Linked DNA regions of Homo sapiens: region 2 is linked to region 1. Evidence: promoter capture Hi-C in human tissues and cell types (Jung and others, 2019). All regions are on one chromosome and are shown on one strand. The core of a region is centred on a gene start or on the middle of the fragment in contact, and the rest is flanking DNA. Distances in the headings are between cores, read along the strand shown. Region 1 holds the start of ZNF618 (zinc finger protein 618). Region 2 overlaps C9orf43 (chromosome 9 open reading frame 43).

What was found. The method cuts DNA at HindIII sites, captures the fragments that hold promoters and counts their contacts. A contact is called where the count stands out against the background at its distance.
Region 2: a fragment that was not itself captured here is called in contact with the fragment with the promoter of ZNF618 in region 1 in 1 of the 25 tissues and cell types used here (aorta).

The regions. Positions count from the first base shown.
Region 1 is chr9:113,873,038-113,878,061 of GRCh38, forward strand. It overlaps ZNF618 (zinc finger protein 618), which reads left to right and starts at 3,272. Exons shown (of 15, transcript NM_001318042.2): 1 at 3,272-3,376. The coding sequence starts at 3,344. RefSeq lists enhancers at 695-1,195, 1,196-1,696. The HindIII fragment of the contact is 30,531 bases long and covers 1-5,024 here.
Region 2 is chr9:113,428,691-113,433,816 of GRCh38, forward strand. It overlaps C9orf43 (chromosome 9 open reading frame 43), which reads left to right. Exons shown (of 14, transcript NM_001278629.2): 13 at 210-273; 14 at 482-1,000. The coding sequence ends at 696. Among named protein-coding and RNA genes, the nearest start is that of C9orf43, 21 kb to the left of the region's middle. The HindIII fragment of the contact is 8,820 bases long and covers 1-5,126 here.

The sequences.
Region 1 (5,024 bases), core at 2,022-4,521:
AGACTTCAAGCTCAGCCATTGTCCCCTGAGGATACCCTTCATGGCCCATCTGATACAGAATGAAGAAAGGAAGCACTCTTCAAGGCCGAGACCCCTGGGGAGGAGATGCCTCTATGGTCGAGATGTGCTGATAGAAGGCCCAGCTCCTGGGACCCATGGGTGGCGAAGAAACGGAAAGGGCTTGCAGTGATTCTAGAAAAAGAAGGCTGAGAAGGACCATGAGCTTTTATAGGCCAGAGGTGCCTGAAGACAGGCTGTGGATTATTTCAGGTTGGTGGTCACTGATGCTCTTGAGTGAAAGCCACAGATTTTCTCCCCCAAAATGCACATACAGACATACATTTGGTTAAGGAGTAGTTCTTGGTTCCCCAAACCAATGCAAAGTCCCCATTTAAGAATCCCTGCTCTAGAGAGAAACTTCCATCTAATTAAGACCCTCCTGGAATCTTCGCTGACCCACGCCCGGGCTGGGTAGGACCCTTCCTTGAGCTGCACTGAGCACCTCACTGTTGGCACTGTACTGCAAAGGTTTGAAGAAGGTGGCCCTTAAACCAGCAACATCAGCATCACCTGGAAACGCATTAGAAATGCAAACTCTTGGTGCCTAACCTAGACCAAATGAATTCAAAACTCTGGGGTGGGCTCAGCAATCTGAATAGGCTCTCCTGCTGATTCCAAGGATCACTTGCATTTGAGAAGAGCTGCTGCAAATAGTTCTCCTCTTCATGGTGTGTGTCTGTCCTACTAGATACAAGGCACCTGGCACATAGTAAGTGCTCAAATGAATAATTATCGTATCAAGTTTTCCCGACTCCCAGGGCAGGAGTTTTTCCTTGGTACCATACAGCTTTCAGCTGTGGTGACTGAGACCCCATGTCATTTTGGATCTAGTTTCTACTCTAAGGCCTAAGATCAGGCTTGGCTCTACTAGGCAGAGGCGGGGACCCGGCCTTGAGGCAGGTGCCCAGAAACCTTCACACAAGGATCGAGCCAGACAGACATCAAATCTGGGAGCATCTTTCCAGGTAACAAGGCCCCAACCACCTGGTGGATGAGGGGCAGGTGGACTAGGGGCTGCCTGCCCAGCACATATGCTCAGGGCTCACAGGACCCAACTCTGCCATGCTCTGCAAGCTGCCCCTACTCACCTTGGTGCCTGCTGCACACCAGCCTGGGCAGAGGCTGCCAAACCTCTGGCAGGGACATACTTACCAGGTTGGTGGGGAGAAAAATGGCCACTTTCAATTTCAATTTTTAAGGAATCTCCAACTTTTAGGGGTCTGGGAGGAAGTGGTTAGAAGACTCCTCTTTTTTTTTTTTTTTTGAGACGGAGTCCCACTCTGTCACCCAGGCTGGAGTGCAATGGCGTGGTCTCGGCTCACTGCAACCTCCGCCTCCCGGGTTCAAGCAATTCTCCTGCCTCAGCCTCCTGAGTACCTGGGACTACTGGCTGGTGTGTGCCACCACACCTGGCTAATTTTTGTATATTTAGTGGAGAAGGGGTTCACTATGTTGGCCAGGCTGGTCTCCAATTCCTGACCTCGTGATCTACCCGCCTTGGCCTCCCAAAAGGATTATTTGCGTGAGCCACCACTCCCGGCCAGAAGACTCCTTTTAACGTCTTGTGTTATGAGTGTTTGTTAAGGGGGGCAAGAGTTGTGTTTCTTAATTTCATGTCTCCCATATAGGGCTAAACTCCCAATTTAACTTATTAGGGAAAGGAGGTGTCTTCTACACAGTGCCTCCGTTTCCTAAAATTTTAAAAATAACTTTTTTGAGGATTGTAGGGAAAACATTTCTGTAACCTTTCCTGTCTCATATTGCTCCAGTTCTTTAAACATTACAAAAAAGAACATTTGATTTTTGAAGGTGGGGGCAGAGAGAAGATACCTGGTTACTCTTAATTTCCAATGCTTTTATTTTTGAAAAGTACCCTTGCAGTTTTCTTTTGGGGAGGGGCAAAGAAGGATTTCTGTTCACCTTGCATCTCATAGAAGAGCAATTCTTAACATTTTTATTCCAAAAATCAACCAGTTGTGGGAGATGTAGGATGGATCCAGTAATCCCTCCTTGTCTCTATAATAGGGCAGGTCCTTCATACTTTCAATTTTTAAAAAATCGGATTTTTTAGGAGAATAGGGAAGAGAATAGAAAAAAAAATCCCTTTTAAACTTTCCCAAGTCACAAGGAGGCAGTTGCTCAAGTTAAAAAAAAAAAAACAACAATAACAACAACAAAAAAACTGGCTATTTTGGGGTGTTGGAAAGAAATATCCTGGTTCACGTTTTATTTCACATGCAAGTTTCTCAAATTTTCCTTCTCTAAATCAACCTAACTGGGGGATATGGGGGTGGGGGGCGCTAATATCCCTTAACCTTTAACCCCTCTTGTCTTACTGTAGGACCAGTTTTTCAAACTTTTATTTAGAAATACATATATATATTTTAATTTGGCAAGGATAGGCAGAAACAGCCGCTTCACTGGCATTTCACATAAAAGCGGCTCCTCAAGTATTTATTTTAAAAATCAGTCTGGCTGGGGGGCTAGAGTCCCCTTAACCACTCTTGTCGGACATGGGGCCAGTCCTTCAAACTTTTATTTTATTACATTAGTTTTTTTGGGAGGAGTGGCAGGGCAATAGAATATTCCCAATAAGCCTTCCAGTCTTCCAGCAAGCCAGCTCTTGAAAACTTTTATTTCAAAAATCAATCTGGTTTTTTTTTGGCGGGGGGGTACAGCGGGGTACAGAGTTCCCATTAACCTCTTGCGTTCCGCCGAGAGCCGGCTCCCTGAACTTTTTTTCCAGCGTGAAAATGACATTTCCGAGGGGCTGGGGGACTGGGGGAGGGCAGAAGGGAGCCGGGGAGCGGGCGCGGGGGGCGCGGGGAGGGCAGGGCGCGGCGCGGGAAAGTTTGGGGGGGCGGGTGTGCCGCGGCACTGGGGCTGGCGGACGGGAGGGCGGGCGCGCCCCTGGACCGGCCGGCTTTGTGTGCCACGCGGAGGCCGGCAGCGCGGAGGCCGAGGCCGAGGCCCCGAGCTCGCGGGCCGCACGGCGAGGCCGGCCCGGGGGCGGGCAGGGCGGCGGGGGGCGGCGGCGGCCCCGCGAGGGGCGGCTCGGCGGCAGCGGCTGCCGCGGCGCGGCCGGTGCGGGCCGGGGGTGGGGGCGAGGGCCGGCGCCCCCCCCGCGCGCCCCCAGCGCCCCCGCCCCCCCGGCCTGAGCGGGGCGGGCGGAGGAGGGAGCGGCGGCGGCGGCGGCGGCGGCGGCGGCGGCATTGTGCGCGCACCAGCAGCCCGGCCCGGGAGGAGCAGGACGCGCCGGGGCCGCCTCCTCCCGCACGGACCCATGAACCAGCCGGGCGGCGCGGCGGCTCCGCAGGTACGACGGGGGGCCGGGGGCATGCACCGCGCGGGGGACCCCGGGGGGCCGGGGCCCGGGGCGCTGCGCCACTTCATTGCAAGATTTGCAAAATGCAAAGTGCCTGGGCACGTTTGCGGGCTTTTTGTGGGCGCAATCGGGAGGGTCGGGGTCCGGAGAGCACCCCCCCGGGCGCTGCGGGGTGCGAGGAGGGTGGGGGTGACGAGGGGGTCTTTTGGGGCCCCCACCCAGCGCCCCCTCCGGCCCCGGGCTCGGACCGGAGCCCAGAAAACAAAGCGGCGAGAGAACAGAGCAGCCATTTCAGTTTGGACAATTCACATTTTGCAAAAATGCAACCCCTTCCAGCTCTGCCCCCTCCCCCCCAAATTTGCAATTTTCCCCTGACCCTCTCTGCGCTCGGGGTCCCCGATGACCCCCCGGGAGGTCTTTCCCCCCAGGTCCCCCATTTTTGCAACAATCTTTTTTTTTAGGCCATATTTTCCTTTCTCAATTTTTTTTTTCTAATTTTTCTTCAAACGGTAGTTTTTTCCCATTAAAACGACGCCACCTAGAGGATACTATTTTGTAAATAAAAAAGAAATTAAAATTGAAAAGAAATATTTTTTATTTCTTATTTTTTCAAAAGTTTGCACTACCAGGCAGTGGAGGGGTAAGAGATTCTTTTTTTTTCTTTTTTCGGGTGAAAATTTTCACTTTGATCTTTCCAGAAGCATGGAGACAATTTTTATTTCTGAAGCCAAATCCAGATAATATGTAAATGAAAATTAAGCTGGAATTTGAATGAATTTAGTTCTTGGAGGGGAGAAAGCAAAAAACCTCCTAAAAGCAAAGTCAGTTTGGGTACCCAACTCATTTTAGTTTGAGAAAAAAACTAATTGGAATAAAGAAAGGAGGGAAATTGTTGAGTTTAGGGAAAACTGAGAGAATTGGCTTTATGAAGCAATTAGAAATTGTACTTCATTGTAATTTGGAACTTGTTTAGCTCAGCGGGCAAAAAAAGACTAATTTCTCTATATGGCAATATTTAAAGTTTTTCTATTTCCACGAACGAAGGATTTAAAAGAGAAAATAGAACCTAAAATGTTGGCTTTGGACACACCCAAAAATTGTAGTTTTTTTTTTTTAATTTTGCATTTACATTTTACTGCATTTAAATCCTAAGATTCTAAAGAAAACAGAAACTAGAAAAGTTACAGTGAAATCCTTTCTTTCTTTTTTTCTGTATTTGTTGGGTTTTGTGTGTGTGTGTGTTTTTTTTGTTTTGATGGAATAATTAAGACTGTTTTCTGATTTTGTTTCCTGAAAGGTCTAGGCATTTCTTTTTTGTTGTTGTTTTATCCAGAAAATGTCAGGAACCTTTTTTGAGCAATATTAAGTGGAAAAAATGTAAATTCATACATTATACAAATTGAGTAGCCCACAGATTTGTAGGAGAGACCGCCATTAAAATAAGATATGCATAATTAACATTATTATGAAAAAACTAACAGTGGATTCACAGAAGCTCATTTTTTATGACATGCAACTGAATCAATTGATGAAGACAAGGATTGAGGAATCCTTGGTAAGGAAGAAAATTTTCCCTTTTCTGTCTTGTTCACCCTTCCAATTTGAAAAATTTATTACTTAAAAAAAATTTAGATTGGTT
Region 2 (5,126 bases), core at 1-2,500, 450 kb before region 1:
ACTGCAGGGAATGGGAAGGAGTGGTTCTAGGTTCATTTGGACAGCATGGAGGGCAAAGAACGTGTGGTAAAAGCTTCTCTTCAGTCCCAAGAGGTGGGTCTCTGGCTCATCTTAGATGTTAATTTCTCCAAGAGAAGCATCTTTTAGAAAAATCCTTTTAGTTTCCTAAAGTCTTGATTCAAATTTCCTTATACCCCAATGAATTTCAGGATTCCACGGAGAGACCAAAGATGAACTACTATGACCATGCGGATTTCCACCACAGTGTAAAAAGTAAGTTACTAGAGTAGAGGAACCTTAGTAAGTGACTGAGGATAGGGAGAGTTGAACCTGTGTTGACCAGGATAGTTTACCTCCCTGAAGGCACAGTTCCTCTATCTCAGAGAAGTCCTAAAAACACCCCATTTTTCCTTTTCTGTCCTCCATTTGTTGTAGTTGAGAGGAGTTTACAGGTGCAATTAATGACTGCATCTTCTTTTAGGTCCTGAATTGTATGAAACAGAACCCACTAACAAGGACATTAGTGCTCCAGTGGACGCTGTGCCAGAAGCCCAGGCTGCCAGGCAAAAGAAGATCTCCTTTAACTTTTCAGAAATTATGGCTAGCACAGGCTGGAACTCTGAGCTCAAACTACTTAGGATTCTTCAGGACACTGATGATGAGGATGAGGAGGACCAGTCCTCTGGGGCAGAGTGAGAAGCCTCTGGAGGAATAGACTGAAGGCATCCCCTGGGGCAGCCGTGTTCCAAAGCGGGATGGCTGGTATCCTGAGGGCAGCAACGTTTCACATAAGGGCAAGAGGAGAGGGGCTTCTGCTCTCTGGAGCCTTTACCAGGGCCTGAGCTCTGAGCTTAGGGATTCCATTTTCTTTGTTCACCTCTACTTGCCTCTAAAATAAATGTAGGAGAAAAATCCCCAGCCTTTTTAAATTTAGATTATTTCCTTTCCATTAGGGTCAGAATAATTTTGGTGATTAAACACAACTGCTTTTCAATCAAAAGACTTATTTTCTGTTTCTAGGAGGAAGGGAAAGATGTTTCTTGGTATCTGTTTTCTGGGTCACTCTTATCTCTGAAGTTCTGAAAGGTTTCCAGTTGTAGGAGGCTGAATTTGGCTCATGGGAGCTGCCATGATGCTCCCTAGATTTTCCTCTCATTCCCTAGAAATGGTTTCTTTTGGAGATGGGATCTACATTGTTATCAAATAATGTTCATTGTGTCGCTGGTCTTAAGCTCCTAGGCTCAAGCAGTCCTCCCTCCTCAGCCTCCCAAAGTGCTGGGATTACAGGCATGAACCACTGTGCCCAGCCAAAAGCTCTAGTTTCTTTCTTTTTTTTTTTGAGATGGAGTTTTGTTCTTGTTGCCCAGGCTGGAGTGCAATGGCATGATCTCGGCTCACCGCAACCTCCGCCTCCTGGGTTCAAGCGATTCTCCTGCCTCAGCCTCCCGAGTAGCTGGGATTACAGGCATACGCCACCATGCCTGGCTAATTTTGTATTTTTAGTAGAGATGGGGGTTTCTCCATGTTGGTCAGGCTGGTCTCGAACTCCTGACCTCAGGTGAGCCACCCACTTCAGCCTCCCAAAGTGCCGTGATTGCAGGTGTGAGCCACCGCACCCGGCAAAAAGCTCTAGTTTCTAAGGAACTGAGTCTGCACAGGAAAGTTTCAGTGATGCTCATAAAGGCTCAGAATTTCAGAGTCTGAGAGAACTTCTAACTTGGTTTTGGAGGTTTTTTTTTTTTCATGTTTTAGTCCTTAAAAAGATATAATGTAAAAATTTCAAAATTACGTAAAAGGAAAGAGAATAATATAATGAAACTTTGATGTATTCAGTATCTTAGATCTGGGCAAGGAAGGCCCTTGGCCCCGTGCTTTAGAAAGTCCTCTGGTGTTCTGGCTGTGCTGCCCCTCACGGCAGAGAAATCTGCAGAGCCAAGTGGACGTACACCTAGCTGGAGTCTGTGACTCCCCTTTTAGACTTTGTTCCTGGTATTTGGAACCCTGGAATTCCCTGCCCAGTGGCCTCTTGCCTACTTCCATGGCTTCTGCAGGCCTCTTTTGTGGGTCCATCTCCCAAGAGTGGACTATCCCACCAGTGTGTGTGCTGCTGGGTTCAAGGGGGTAAGAGGAGGGTATTTGGAGAGGGATGTGCCCAGAGCTTGGACAGATAGACTGGGGTATCAGCATTTGTTGCCTTTCCCAGTAAGGATGGGATCATGGGGATGAGAAGTGAGGGCTGGTTCTTCTAGTGCTGCATGTTAGTGTGGAACCTCAAGGAATCTGTGGATTTTGAATGAACCTGGCTTTCTAGATCATGAAGGTATACTGGTCAAGGTAGCAAGTTAGAACATGTTTTATTTAACAATTTGTTAGCTTAATTTATAGTTTTTAAATGTTCAGACATGGTTAGTAGACCTGTTTTTGTACACTTATCCTGAGTCCTGCAAAACATTAGGACTGTCCAGAGCCATCATTTGGGACAAATTTTAAGGAGGAAGAATTTAACCCCACAATGTAGAGATCATTAATTTGCAGTCCCATTTTAAAGGTAAGGATAGCAAGGCTCAGAGAGGGGATTTGTCTTGACTGAGCTCATGAGCTGGGAAGTGGGGCTAAGCTGGAATCTGGGTCTCCTAGTGCTAGGTCAGAGCTCTTTTCATTATTCCAGTCTGCTGTTCTCTCACCTCATTCTCCAGAAACAATGGTAGGTTATTCATCATCATATTTAACCAGAGTCTGACTTCCTCTCCTTCCTGGTGTGCTGTCTGTCTTCCTCTGTAATTGATTAATGTGGGTCCCAGGGATGCTGGCTCCATGTTTTTTATAATCAGGAAAGTTGGAAACATATAAAAGTTAATGAGATCCCATGTGTCCATTACCTAAGAATTATCAATTTGTGACCAATCTTGTTTCATATACACACACCCCCATCCTGAACAAGGTTATCTGAAGCAAAGGTCATTTTTATCCATAAATATTTCAGCATACACTTCTAAAAGAAAAGTGTTAAAAATAACTACGAAAATTAATCATAGCTGCTTAATATCAAATATCCAGGCAAATTCAAATTTCCCTCTATTATTAATTTCTTTTCACAGTTGATACCTTCAAACTAGAATCCAAATAAGGCCCATAAATTGTATTTGGTTGATACACTCAAAAATTTCTTTCTTTCTTTTTTTTTTTTGACATAGGGTCTCACTCTGTTACCCAGGTTGGGGTGCAGTGGCACGATCACGGCTCACTGAAGCCTCGACCTCGTGGGCTAAGATGATCCTCCTGCCTCAAATTGTTGGGACCACAGCCATGCGCCACCATGCCTGGCTAATTTTTTTTTTTTTATTATTTGTAGAGATGGTGTCTTGCTATGTTGCCCAGGCTAGTCTCAAACTCCTGGGCTCCAGTAATCCTCCCATCTTGGCCTCCCAAAGTGCTGGGATTACAGGAGGGAGCCACCTGGCCCCTAAAATTCTTTAATCTATAGGTCCCACTTTCTCCTTTTTCATTTTTCTTTTCTTGCAATTTATTTGCTGAAGAAACTGGGTTGTTTGGTCTGTAGATTCCTACATTCTTGATTTTTCCAGTTGTATCCTCATGGTGTTGTTTAACACATTTCTTCATTCTCTTTATTTCCTGCAAACTGTTAGATCCAGAGGCTTGAGCTGCTTCATGGTATTTTTTTTTTTTTGCAAGAAAATTTCATAGATGGCATTATGTTCTTCCATCAGGAGGCCCTTAATGTCTGGGTGTCTCTTCTCTGGTCTTAGTGGCCAATAATGATCTTTGCCTGATTTTTGTATATTGATCGTGTATCCCGCAACATTACTTACCTTGTTACTTAGTTTTGGTAGTTTTTTAGTGGATTTCTTATTATTTTCTTTTTCTTTTTTGGAGTGTTTCGCCTTTATTGATAGTGTTGTTGGGGACAGAGGAAAGATTTCTTTTCTCACATGTTGCTAGGTTAATGACAGAGACATATATAGCAAAGGACAGATTAGCAAGAGAAAAGCACACACGTTTATTTAATATAAGTTTTACATGACATGGGAGCCTTCCTATGGAGGTGAAGACAAAAACACAGGGAAACCTGGGTATTTTTATGCTGTTTGATGGAGAGTAGACAGTTGTGGAGAAATATGATTGGAGGACAAAAGAGTATGATCTAATGGTAATAAACTGGGGGAACTTAGCAAGGCGTGTTTGTGTAGATTCTTCTTTGTGTCCCTTGTGTCTTCAGAGCTAAGGATATTCCTTCCCTTTAGGTATAGGGAGGGTCCCTCTCAAAATGAGAAACTTGTTTTGGGGAGAAGAGGGAATGATGAGAGTGACCTTCCTGGTTCTGCCATGTTTTCAAATGCCAAGGTGCCATATTTTGGGGTTGCATGTCCTGAACCCCATCATTGTCCTCTTCTAAATTCATCCCTAACATGTCAAGGTGACTTCAGGGTGGTCACATGGTCCTGAGGCTTCCCCTTCATGAGTGAAGTGTGTTTTTCTAATGTGATGCTCCTGCAGGCAAAGTGGGGAAAGATGCCTTCTGACATGCAGCCCAACTTGTTTTTGGCTTATCATTCCTTTCATCCAGCAGGAACTAAGATTGCACCTGCCCACTTGCTGGTTTATTATACTACAAAGGATACAGATGAAGAAATGTGTAGGTCGAGGTATGGGGGAAGGGGCTTCCATGATTTCCCTGGGCACGCCACCCTCCAGGAATCTCCATGTGTTCAGCTATCTGGAAGCTCTTCTTAGGATTTTCTATATACAAGATTATATCATCTGCAAATAGAGATGTTTTTGTTTCTTTCCTTTTAATCTTCATGCTTCTAATTTCTTTTTCTTGCTTAATTGTCCTGGCTAGAACCTCTAGTACAATGTTGAATAGAAATGAAGAGAGTAGACATCCTTGTTTTATTTTTGATCTTAGGGCAAAGCATTCAGTCTTTCACCATTAAGTATGATGTTCACTTTGAGTTTTTCATAGAAGCACTTTATTATACTGAGTTCCCTGTTTTCTTCTTTTCTTTTTTTTCTTTTCTTTCCTTCCTTCCTTCCTTCTTTCCTCCCTTCCTTCCTTCCTTCCTCTCTCTTTTAATCTCTCGGTTTCTTTCTTTTCTTTTCCTTCC